2 separate regions of the Homo sapiens genome follow, and region 1 is linked to region 2. Evidence: promoter capture Hi-C in human tissues and cell types (Jung and others, 2019). All regions are on one chromosome and are shown on one strand. The core of a region is centred on a gene start or on the middle of the fragment in contact, and the rest is flanking DNA. Distances in the headings are between cores, read along the strand shown. Region 1 overlaps TDP1 (tyrosyl-DNA phosphodiesterase 1). Region 2 holds the start of KCNK13 (potassium two pore domain channel subfamily K member 13).

Region 1 (6,554 bases), core at 2,110-4,609, 85 kb after region 2:
TATCCATAGATGCCACACTTGTCAAAAGTGTGTTATCTGGGCTTGGGGTAAGTCTTGCCTATTCTTCATTAACCCAAATCAGACTTAGTGGGGTCCACTCTTTTTCCATGTGACCTCCCCAGGCCTCTAGTCGAACACATTTCTCTTATTTTAATTGCAGTGAGAGAGAGGGAATAGGATATAGATAAAAGCTTTCCATTTGAAGTCTGAAGACCTGAGCTCCAGACTTTGTCATTTAGAAGCCCTTTGACCCTAGGTAAGCCATTCAATGTCCCCGAGCCTCAGTTTTCCACTTGTATCTCTAAGGATCAACCCCACTTCAGGACTATTGTGAGTGAAATGCAAAAATACATTTTGCTGCCAGGCACGGTGGCTCATGCCTGTAATCCCAGCACTTTGGGAGGCTGAGGCTGGCAGATCACCTGAGGTTAGGAGTTTGAGACCAGGCTTGCCAACATGGTGAAACCCATCTCCACTAAAAATATAAAAATTAGCTAGGTGTGGTCGTGGGCACCTGTAATCACAGCTACTAAGCAGGCTGAGGCAGGTGAATCAGTTGAAGCTGGGAGGCGGAGGTTGCAGTGAGCCGAGACTGCACCACTGCACTCCAGCCTGGGTGACAGAGTGAAACTCTGTCTCAAAAAAAAAAAAAAATTGTTAAATGTGAAACACTCTCACCTGTACATTCCTATTACTCCTTTGGTACACAGCTTTATTTTCTCATCTAATAATGGATGATTTTTATCTCCCTGTTGTTTTCAATAGGATTATTTCAATATTTCAGGAATCTAAGTTCTCTCTCTCCAACTAAAGTGTCACTTCTCATGGCTGTAACTCTGTCTTGACTTATTTTATCATTTCTATTGAGGCCAAAATGCTACTTAATACTTACTGATGAAACTCAATTCACACATGGCAAAAAAAAGTGAACCACTGGCTCTCTCCAAATAAACAACATGAACATTATCTGGGCAGGATGAAATTATCATAAAAAGATAAGAAAAAGGGTACGAGAAGAGACAAGAGAATGAGATATTTAGCTCTTGCCAAAACGAGAAATTAACCCAAGCTGGCAAACAGTAAATTAATGCAAAGCTGGAGAAATGACAGCTGCTGTGCCATCTTCTTTCCATTTGTGAAATGTGCTCCCTGAAATCTGGGCAAATTTACATACACAGTTGCCAAATCAGCAGCTGATTGTAATTAAGAATAAGTCAGTTATGGATTCATGATAGAACGTTTACAAATATTTCCATTAGTCAAGACATCGATTATCAGGCAAATCACACACTAATGTCAATGAATGCTATCAAATAGAATTATGAACTTGAGAGTAGCCATATTCATCTTTTCATAGACAAAATGGTAGTGTTAATAAGGTCACAGTTAAAAATGGATAGAAAAGGGTGAGGAATGAGATCTCCCTTGAAGAATGCTGACCTGCCATACTGTCTGCTAAGCTGTGAGGCAGCAAAAGGGACCCAACCCAAATGCGCAGCTATTCCTGCAAAGGGGGAAGAGAACTAACATATGGCAAGCACCTCTCTACCAGGTGCCATCCTAGAAGCTCTGTCGTATGTTACCACACCAAGTCTTCACAGCAATACAGAAGAGGAGTTATTCTCATTCTACAATTGTGGAATCTACAGCTGGACATTTAACAGGGATTATCCAAGGTCACAAAGTGGGCCAGCGGAAGAGCTTGTTGGGATCACAAATGCCAGATGCCAGGGCACTCCTTTCACCACACATGGTTTCACAGGGCTGGTGGCAGCAACGGTGAACACTTCATGCTACTGGTACAGGGGTAGGTGAGGTGGGGGGAGACATGGCCTTGGTGGGAAAGAGGACTAAATGATGCATGGTGGGGGCCTGACTACAGATCTTAGTGGAAAGAGGCATGCCTCGCCCATCCTGTGGTTTGCTACTGGCCACCACCTGGATCTGGATATTTGACATTCAGCTGCTTTGGCTTTCTCTTTCCCCTCTATCGATTCTTGGAGCCATAAGAATTAACTCTGCTCCCAGCTCTAGAGGAAACCAAAGAGCTTTCCCATTCTAAAACACTGTGAGACAGACCACGGGATTGCATGGCATCCAACCAAAACTGGACAGAGCAGGGCTTGTGTGCCAAAGTGTATGCAGTCTCAAAGACTGCCTCGTTCACTGTTTCTAGCTCTACCCTGTGAGGTGGGGAAGGCAGTTTACCCTCCATCACTATGATCTGGAAGGTGATTCTCCTTTTCTAATTCACATGTTTGTCTTGCTTCTCTCACCAAAGAAAAAGCTGTAAGAATAAAAACTCTATATCCTCTTGAGCTGTGTCAAGAACATAAGAAGTATTTAATTCTTAAAACATTTTAAAAATACGCTAGGTGCGGTGGCTCACGCCTGTAATCCCGGCACTTTGGGAGGCCGAGGCGGGTGGATCACCTGAGGTCAGGAGTTCGAGACCAGCCTGGCCAGCATGGTGAAACCCCATCTCTACTAAAAATACAAAAATTAGCTGGACGTGGTGGCACACGCCTGTAGTCCCAGCAACTCAGGAGGCTGAGGCAAGAGAATTGCTTGAACCTGGGAGGCGGAGGTTGTAACGAGCTGAGATTGCGCCATTGTACTCCAGCCTGGGCAACAGAGCGAGACTGTCTCAACAAAAAAAAAATTTTTTTTTAAATAAGCAACTAAAAGTAATTTCAAGACACGAGCTCAATCTTCTACAAGATAATGTCATTTCAACAAAATGTAAACTACAGATACTTAATTGGGAAAAGTTCAACTGTAATTACTTTCCTAGGCATTTTCTTTTGTTTTCGAGACAGGGTCTCACTCTGTCACCCAAACTGGAGTGCAGTGGCATGATCTTGGCTCGCCACAACCTCCGCCTTGCAGGCTCAAGCGATTCTCCTGCCTCAGCCTCCCATGTAGCTGGGATTATAGGCATGTCCCACTACTGCCCGGCTAATTTTTATATTTTTAGTAGAGATGGGGTTTCACCATGTTGGCCAGATTGGTCTCGAACTCCTGATCTCAAATAATCCACCCACCTTGGCCTCCCAAAGTGCTGGGATTACAGGCATGAGCCACAGCGCCCAGCCTCCTAGGCATTTTAAACTCTGAATTAAGAGCTCTTGGCCAGGCATGGTAGCTCACACCTGTAATCCCAACACTTGGGGAGGCAGAGGAGGGTGGATCACCTGAGGTCAGGAGTTTGAGACCAGCCTGGCAAACATGGTGAAACCCCGTCTCTAATAAAAATATAAAAGTTAGCCAGGTGTGGTGGCAGTGGCCTGTAACCCCAGCTACTTGGGAGGCTGAGGCAGGAGAATCGTTTGAACCCAGGAGATGGAGGTTGCAGTGAGCCAAGATTGTGCCACTGCACTCCAGGCTGGGCAACAGAGCGAGACTCTGTCTAAAAAAAAAAAAAAAAAAAAAAAAAAAAGAGCTCTGTTGAGTTTAACCTGCAAAGTATGTGTGTAGGAGCGAGGGGGTAGTGGTGAATGGACCAAAGGAAATAATAAGGTAAATTTTAGCAATGAGCAAACAAGAACAAATTTAAAGCTAAAGTTAATGCCAGCACAGGGGCTCATGCCTGTAATCCCAGCACTTTGAGAGGCTAAGGCAGGAGGTCTGTTTGAGTCCAGGAGTTCGAGATCAGCCTGGGTCACAAAGTGAGACCCCTGTCTCTACAAAAAAATTAGCCAGGCATGGTGGCGTGTGCCTGTAGTCCCAGCTGCTCGGGAGGCTGAGGTGGGAGGATTGCTTAAGCCCAGGAGTTGGAGGCTGCAGTGAGCTGTGATCATGCCACTGCACTCCAGTCTGGGCAACAGAGTGAGACCACATCTTGAAAAATTGTGTGTATATATTAATTAAAGTTAGAATAAATAGGTTCTATTCCTGTCTCCACTACTGGCCCAAGGAAAAATCACATACCTAAACCTGGGCCTCAGTTTCCTGATCTATAAAATTAAAAGGAAAGACCAAATAATTTTTATAAGAGCATTAAATAAAAGAATAGCTCCCCCAGGCTCAGTTAAGCATCGCTGTGCTAGATCCTAGGTGGGCCTACCATGCTCAGTCTCTCCTAAGAATAACCGTGTAATGGACAAATGACAATGCTTGAGGGGTTCCCCTATTTCACAAAAAGTGCTTACGTGTGGTGTGTTCCAAACGCAATATCCAACTTTGCCTAGGATGAAAAAGAAGTCATTTATTTAAAAACAACTCACTAATATCCATATCTACTGGAAATTACATTAGAAAGCAATCAGGTCAACTTTTTTTTTTAAAACTATTTTTACTGATCTCTACCAGGCAAGCCCTTGAATAACAAGACAGCTTTTATAATAGCATCTGGGGACGCTCATTAAAAAAAAAAAAAAAAAAAACACAAATTTTGTTACCCAGAATGATTATACACTACAGAATATATACTACATTTTTAATTACAGTAATTAGGACTGAGAAGCCTAAATTCTTTAGTTGACAAAAAACTAGTAAAACAAGTGAGTCTCTATGCAAAGTTTTAGATATTTGGCTTATACAGAAATTAATGGTACACAGTTTTCAGAGCATATTTAAAAGAAACACTGAAGGCCAGGTGCGGTGGCTCACGCCTGTAATCCCAGCACTTTGGGAGGCTGAGGCGGGCACATCACGAAGTCAGGAGATGGAGACCATCCTGGCTAACGCAGTGGAACCCCGTTTCTACTAAAAATATGAAAAAATTTGCCAGGCGTGGTGGCCAGCGCCTGTAGTCCCAGCTACTTAGGAGGCTGAGGCAGGAGAATGGCGTGAACCCAGGAGGCAGAGCTTGCAGTGAGCTGAGATAGCGCCACTGCACTCCAGCCTGGGTGACAGAGCGAGACTCCGTCTCCAAAAACAAAAAAAGAAACACTGAAAGTGGTGGCAACATAAAGACTTAGGATGTTAAATTAAAATAGAAATGTTCTTATATTAGCATAGCAAGTGCTGAAAATAAAAACATATGAAATCCATTTTCATGTTATAAAATGACACCTTTACAAACTAATGGAGGGTATGTATATAGAAAACATGTTATCTAATACCCACTAATGCCAGATCTTGGTTAAGCAGAATATGTCACAAGATGCAGATTATGAAAGAGTTTAAATAACCGTAAAAGTTTCACAATTAGGAACGCAGTACATGGGCTCAAATCCTGCCTTCACAACTTTGTATGACTCTGGAAAATACATCTAACTCTATGCCTCAGCTTTCTCCTCTTTAAAACGGTACCATTCTGAGATCCAGAGTTGTCAGGAACGAGATCACATATGTAAAATGCTGAGCAACGGGGGCCTGCATGCAATAGGCACTCTATAATCGTGGCAATCACTACTGCAACCTCTCCCCACTACCTACCCCAGCCTCCTTACCACATGACATGGGTGAAACTTTGCTGGGGGCAGTAATGGGCGACTGGAATACACAGGTGAGTTACAACACAGCTCCTGTTTGGAATGGAGATGCTCACAGACCAGCATGCATCTGTGCATTCTGGCCACAGAAGAAAGTGCAGGGAACTCTATTTCATGTTTTCAAAATTACCAAATGAGAAGGAAGACTGCCACTCTATAAACTGATATTTAGCTGAGAAAGAACAATGGTCAAGAGACCTGGCTTTTGTTTCGTTTGCTAAAAGTTACATGCTTCTGGGTAAGTCTAAGCACAAAAAACAAGGATAATAGCTTCAATAGATATTGTTTACTGGGTGCTGTTTTTGGGCTAGTGCACCAAGTCCTTTAGTAAACTCTAGGATGAACAGCATTAGCAATCAATTTCAAAGATAAAGAAATTAGGTGACAAGCCAGTGACAAGCCCAGAATAAGTGTTGTAGACTAAACACTTCTGTCCCCCACCAAATTCATATGTTGAAGCCCCAACTTCCAATGTGACTATTTGCAGAGAGGGACTTTATGGAGGTAATTAAGGTTAAATGAGGTCATAAGGGTGGGATCCTGATCCAACAGGACTGCTGTCCTTATACAAGAGCTACCAGACAGCCTATGTGTCTGTCTTCCTCCCTCTCCCTCATGAGGACACCGTGAGAACGTGGCCATCTATAAGCTGGCAAGAGAGCCCTCACCTGGAACTGAACTGACTGGCACCTTGATCCTGAATTCCCAGCTTCCAGAACTGTGAGAAATAAGTGTCTGTTGTTTCAGCGACCCAAGTCCAAGAAAAGTCACCCAGGTAATTTTGTTATAGCACCCAAGCAGACTAATACACACACGTAGAGCCGGGACTGAGCCCAGGCAATGTGACTCTGACCACCACAAGGTCTCAATGTCTGCCCTTAGGTCCCACATTTGCAAAATGGGAGAGGGTCAGCAGCCACCGATTCTCTGACTAATGTGTCTCAGTTTCAATGACTCACGTTGCTAGAAAAAGACTTTATCTTACAGACAAGGTATAAAGGTGCTTCAAGAGATCAGGAGGACACAATCCTGTACGTCAGCCTAGAGTTGGGAGCTTCTTCACAGCTCTTTCCAAGAGGTTTGGAAGAAGTGGCTCACTATGCCCTCTGGTGGCCA
Region 2 (6,201 bases), core at 1,025-3,524:
AAGTTACCATTCAATCTAAAAAAATCCTGTACTTGCTATGCAAACACAGTAGAGTCAAGGTCACTTCCAAAGTGACACCTCCTAATCAGTTTGTTCATCCCAAGTCTTGCCTATGTGGAGATTCTGGAACTGTCTTCTGGGACGTGGGAGGTGATGTGAGGAGGGGCTTGTGGAACACGGCTAAGAGTCCAGCAGATAGTGTGGGCTCAGGGGGAGAACCATGGGGGTGTTATTCCTCCTTCACCAATCTTGGGCCCATTCTGGTCTGCTGCAAGGTTTCCTGCCTGATACCCAGTTATGGTGGTGCCATCATGGCCTGCTGATGGGCCGCACCATCTGGGATGGGATGGGGGCTGGGAGCCAGGCACTTCAGATACAGCCGGTGTGTCCCTAATCATACTGGTCCTCTGCCTCGCCTCCTGTGCATCAGCTGAAGCCCTGGATTCCTGGACTAGCCCTGGGAAGTCTTTCATGATGAATCTGACCTGAAGCCAATCTCTTTTGTCTTTTGTGCTGCTTCTCCTGGCAGAATGTCTATGTAGCACAGCCATGTGTGGGAGCCTCAAGGAGGCTCAACTTGTCGCCCCACCTCACCAGCGAGCTCTTCTAGAGTGCACAGGGGCAGTAGCTACAGAGCGCTCAGCACATGCACCCTGGGCTGTTTGCAACTGCCAGCCTTTTTTGCAGCTTGGAGGCCACTTCCTCTCCGTCTAACTCTTCCAACCTCCCTCCCCTGCTCCAGGTCTCTTTTTGCCCCCCTCAGAATTTATTTCTACAGCATCTTCCCTAACCCCCATTAATCACTTGATTATTCTTCAAGGATGAACAATCTTTAGGGGTGTGGCGCAGACTCCCCCAAATCATTTTCCTTCTGCTGGGAAATAAACACAGCTGATTGTAGCTGTGCTACATCTTTGCTAAAAAATTCTCAATGGCTCCCAGGTGCCTCTAGGTAAATTCCAGCTCCTCAGTCTGTCAGTGAAGGTCCTACCCCCGCCTCCATCCCATTAGCCAGCAGACCTTCCTAGTCTTCCTTCCACCACTCCAACCAGCTCATGGGGCCCCTGAGTGCGATTCTCTCCTACTCTAGAGTGCAACCGCGCTTTCAGTTCCCAAACCCAAGTTATGCCTAACACGAATTGATTCAGCCCAAAGGTCACTTCCCTGGTTCTTCCTGGTGGAAAATTTTCCATCTTTTGAACCGTCATTGGCACTTTTGCTTCCTCACTTTCAGTCTGCTGTTCTGATTTTTTCTCGGTAAGTGTGAAGTCGAGGGCAGAATCTTTTAAAATCTGCACTTCCCCTCTGACTGACTCAGTAAATGTTTAGTTTCCTGTCCCTATCTGTAAAAGCCTTCTTCCCCATGAACTCAAGCCGTGTCTCCTTCATTAGACTGAAAATCTCCCAGAGCAGAGCGTCTCCAATTTAAGGATCATTCCAATCCTTTGGGGACTTTGTTAACATGCAGATTCTGACTCGGCAGGTCTGCAGAGGGGACTGAGACTGCATTTCTAACAAGCTGCCAGGTGACGCTGAAGCTGCCGGTGCCTGGACCACATTAGAGCAGCGGGGAGGCAATACCACCTGTTGATCAGGCGACAGCTCATGTCAGTGGAGTCTGGCTGGGCGCCCAGATGGATGAATGAAAGGATGAGAGGGTCGGTCCTGCCCCCCGGAGGAAGTGGAGGCCGCCCGGAGGTTGTCAGCGAGTCCGGCCAGCACACTTACCTATGGTGGAAACGACGGTGCCCACGAAGTAGAAGGCGCCGGTGAAGTCCCAGCGCGGGCGGACGTTGTCCACGCGGATGCCGGCCCGAGTGGCCTCCTCGTAGTGGCGGAGGAAGCCGCGCAGCTCGTCGCGGCTCAGGTTGTGGCCGCGGCTGAAGTTGGCCAGGCGCTCCTCCCAGCGCTGCTTGGCCTGGCGCTCGTGCGCCAGCTCCAGCGCGGAGAAGACGGCGGCGCCGCCCAGCAGGTAGAGCACGATGAGCGCGGCCAGCAGCAGAAAGCGCGCGTTGTCCTCGTTCAGGTGGCCCGGGCCCCAGCTGAAACCCCGGCCAGCCATGGCCGGGCCCCCGGGGGCAGCCCCCAGGCCCACGGCACCGGGCGTCGGCGGAGTCTCGCCCACACCCCCGGGAAATAAGGGCCCCGGCGCTCAGCCAGCTCCCGGGCGCCCCACCGCCGGCTCGCCCATGACCGCCGGGCTCTCCCGCAGGCCGCGAGGCTCCCCCGGCCGCCGCCTCGGTAGCTCCTGTGGCGCCAGCTCCCCACGTCCTCCTTGACTCCTAGTTTCAAATCCGCTTTGTCGCCGCCGTTCCCCTCCACTCCCCCTGCTCTCCTCGGAGTTCTCCTTAACGCTGAAGGTCCCGGGGAACGGGCGCAGAGTTCACGTCTGCTTGGCGCTGGGATGCGGGCGCAGTTTCCACCCCGGCTCCCTGTCCGGCTCAGATAGGGGAGGGGGCGTGGCGCGTCTTCAGGGCAAGCTCGAGCCAACTCGAGTTTCCCGCAAAGAGACGGTCGCGGGGCGGGGCGGGGCGGGGCGGGGCGGCGGGGGGGGGGCGCGGTCCGGAGGTCTGCGGGTAAGCAGAGCGCCGGGGTCCTGGGTCCTGGTTCCTTTGACTATCGCTTCGCAGGCCGCCGACGGCTAGGACACGGGTGTCAGTCTGCTGGCTTTGTAGGTGCCTCCCCAGGTAGATCGACGATGGTGCCTCCTAGTTGTGGTCGTGGTGTCGCGCTGAGCCTGTGGCCTCCCGAGTCTCCGAATCGGCTGCCGGGGCTTAGGGATGGAGGGGGTCCAGGGCGGGCGCACGGAGAGAGGGGCTGTGCTGAGCGGCGTCCGAGGGCTGCGGCGTCCGAGGGCTCCGACCTCCGGCCGGGCCCCAACGCTGCGCATCCGTTGGGCGGACGGGCTGGAGAGAGGAGACCAGAAAGGGAGGTTGGAACAGGGAGCAAAGGAAGTTAGGGGCTTCTCCCCCGGGCAGCCTCCCTCGCCTTGACCATGCCAGAGCGCCCTTGGTCTCTGGATCCTGCGCGGGGGCGTCCTCTGCGCCTACTAGTAGGCTCCGCCCGGACCAAGCGCGCACCGCGAGCCAGCCCCGCTTCCGGAGAGGAGGCCAAACACTGGGGGCTGGAAGGGCTCCGCGGCCAGGAGACCTTGACCTTGGAGCGTTCCATCTCTTCCCCCCGGGCTTGGCTGCCTAGTGCGTTCCAGAGTTTTGCCTGGACGCGGGGTCCGCGCAGAAGGCATCCCCCACCTCATGCAGAACAGTAGCAAGGCTCTCCAGCAAACCGCCGGGGCCCCCTCCCCGAGACCCCGCCTTGTAGCGGGCGCTGGCGCCGCTGCCGCGCTCAGATCTCACCTTCCGGGGAGCGCCCTCTCCGCGCCGCTCCGTCGGGACTGTTCCCGGGCCTCCTGGCAGCCGCGGCCCTGCCCTGCCAGCCGGCGCGCGGAGCACAGGTCCGCACCGCGCTCTGCCTTCTCAGGCGGGCGCGCTCCGACGCTGCAACAGGTAGAGCCGTGCGGCTGCCAGCTGCGGCGACTCCACCCTGTCGCCCGCCTCCTTGCGCGCGGGCCCGCCTCCTGCGCTGGTCTCCGCGGGTAGACGCTCGGCGTTCGAAGGGCCGACCCGGGGCTGCGGTGCTCCCACCAGGGCGCGCAGATCTGGGTAGTGGATGCAGAACCGGCTGGTGGGACGCTCAGCCGGTCCGCGTGGGCCCTCCGGGGCCGGGAGAGGGCGCTCTGCCCCCTCCAGACACATCCCGCCCCCGCCCGCGCACACAGCCCCGCGCGGCCCTCCGGAATCACCCGCCCGGGCGTGTGGGAGCGAATCTGTACGCGGAGAGGAATGGATACGTGGGCATCTTCCCACCTTCCGAGAGAGCGGTTTCAGGCGCAGAGCCCCACACACCGCCCTTACGCACCAGGAGCAGAGACAGAAGGGCTAGGAGCCCTGTTGAGTAAAACCGTGTGATTTCGAATAAAGAAACACAGCTCTGGCGAGTGCATTTTCATCAGAAACCCTGGTGCTGTTAGCAGTCCTCTCGGCTCTGTTACTCACTCCCCAATGCCCCTCTTTCATCTAGCCTTCTGAGGGGCAAGAGCTTTAGGGGCATCGCGAGAATGGGTGCATGTGTATACACCCAGGGTGAGTACTGCAATTACCTTTTAAATCCATTTTATTATGAAAAATTTCAAACATTCTAAAAAGTTGAATTTTACAGTGAACACCCGTATACCCACCACCTAGATTCTACAATTAACATGTTACTATACTTGATTTATTAGATATCTACCCGTCCCTCTGTCCATCCATCAACCCATCTTGTTTGGATGCATTTCAGAGTAAGTTGCAGAGCTTGGTACACTTCCGCCCTCATCCCCAGTACTTCTGCCTGCATATCACTACGTAGGGTTCAATATTTACTTGCAGAATTTTTTTCCTTTTCGGATAAAATTTACATACAATGAAATGCACAAATCTTAAGTGTATCATTAGGTGAGTTCTGACAAATGGGTACACCTCTGCAAATCACCTATCCAACCTACCAGCCAAACATCACCAACAGGGTCCCCCTAAGTCCCTTCCCTGTAACTCCCTACCCACATTCCTCCAGAGAAAACCACTGTTCAGAATTTTTCTACCATCGATTACTTTCGCTTTTATAGAACTGTTTTTTTGTTCTAAATCTCCATATAAATGGAATCATGCCGGTATGTACTCTTTGGTGGAAAACATTATGTTTTTGAGATTTACCCATGTTATATGTCTTAGTAATTCCTTCCTCTTTATTGCTAGTTTTTCATTGTTTGGGTATACCATAGTTTGTTTATTCATTCTCCTCCTATTGATAGAAAGGAGAACTGTTAGAAAATTTTGGTCATCATAAATAAAACTGTTAGGAACATTCTTGTACAACTATGTAGACATATGTTTTCATATCTCTTACGTAAAGACCTAGGAGCGGAATTGCTGGGTCATAGGGTAGGTATGTATTTTGCTTTATGAGAAACTGCCCGACATTTTCCCAAAGCAGCTGTACTGACAGTGTACACTAGTTCTGGATGCTCCGTATCTTTGTCAACATTTGGCAGTATCAGTCATTTTAATTTTAAAACTACTGGTGGATGTAGCAATATCTCACTGTGGTTTTAATTTGCATTTCCCTGATGTCTAAAAATACTGGTGGATGTAGCGATATCTCACTGTGGTTTTAATTTGCATTTCCCTGATGTCTAATGCGCTTGCTGGCCACTTGTGTACCTTCTCTTGTGAATTTTCTGTTGAAATATTTTGCCCACTTAAAAAATTAGTTTCTCTGTTACTGAATTATAGAGATCCTTTATATATGCAGGATACGAGTACTTTCTCAGATACATATCTTGCAAATATTTTCTAACTCTGATTTGCCTATTTATTTTCTTAAATATGTTTTCTGTATGTTTGGTGCCCTTTGAGAAATCATTACCTCCTTCAAGGTTGCATAGGTTTTCTGTCTCCCCACACTTTTATATTTGGGTCTACGATCCATTTAAGTTTGTTTCCTTATGGTATGAGGTAAGAGTCAAAGGTCATTTTGTCCAGGTGGATTTCCAGTTATTCCAATGCTATTTGTTGAAAAGATAAATATGCCTGAGTTTCAGGAATTTAATTTGTTCATTATTTGCCCACCCTTATGCTAATACCACAGGATTTACATACTTATAGCTCTATAGTAGGTCTTTAGTGGGACTATAATTGAGTCCTCTAACTTTGTTCTTCTTTTTCAAGATTCTTTGGATGTTATAAAACTTTTACACTTCCACTAAAAAATCATAGAATCAGCTTAATTTCCTCCAAAAAGCTGTGGGATCTTGATTTCTGGGATTGTGTTGGATCTATTTTGGGAAGAACATCTTGACAATTCATGAAAGAGGTATATTCCTCTATTTATTTAGGGTTTCTTAACCAAGTTTTCATATGGAGATTTTGCACATCTCTTGTAAATTCATTCTAAAGTATTTTATATTCTTTTGATGTTATTGTAAATGGAATTTCAAAATTTTACTTTTCAATTGTTTGCTGTAGTCCATAAAAATACACGATTGTTGCAAAAATACTTGAATTCTTCAACCTTGCTACTTTAGTCATCAGTTGTACATGTTTTGTTGATTCCTTTAGGAGTTTCTTTGTAAATAATCATGTCATCTACAAGTTTTGCTTTTTT

Evidence for each region. Contacts are between HindIII fragments. The study calls those that stand out against the background at their distance.
Region 1: a contact is called between a fragment that was not itself captured here and the fragment with the promoter of KCNK13 in region 2, in 2 of the 25 tissues and cell types used here (H1 embryonic stem cells and heart right ventricle).

The regions. Positions count from the first base shown.
Region 1 is chr14:89,973,413-89,979,966 of GRCh38, reverse strand. TDP1 (tyrosyl-DNA phosphodiesterase 1) reads right to left here. Exons shown (of 17, transcript NM_018319.4): 7 at 4,152-4,186. Among named protein-coding and RNA genes, the nearest start is that of TDP1, 21 kb to the right of the region's middle. The HindIII fragment of the contact is 7,845 bases long and covers 1-6,554 here.
Region 2 is chr14:90,058,067-90,064,267 of GRCh38, reverse strand. KCNK13 (potassium two pore domain channel subfamily K member 13) reads right to left here and starts at 2,274. Exons shown (of 2, transcript NM_022054.4): 1 at 1,729-2,274. The coding sequence starts at 2,062. It overlaps LOC124903406, which reads right to left. Exons shown (of 3, transcript XM_047432048.1): 2 at 3,357-3,866; 3 at 2,535-2,906. The coding sequence ends at 2,642. RefSeq lists enhancers at 2,332-2,831, 2,832-3,333 and a silencer at 3,582-3,971. The HindIII fragment of the contact is 23,188 bases long and covers 1-6,201 here.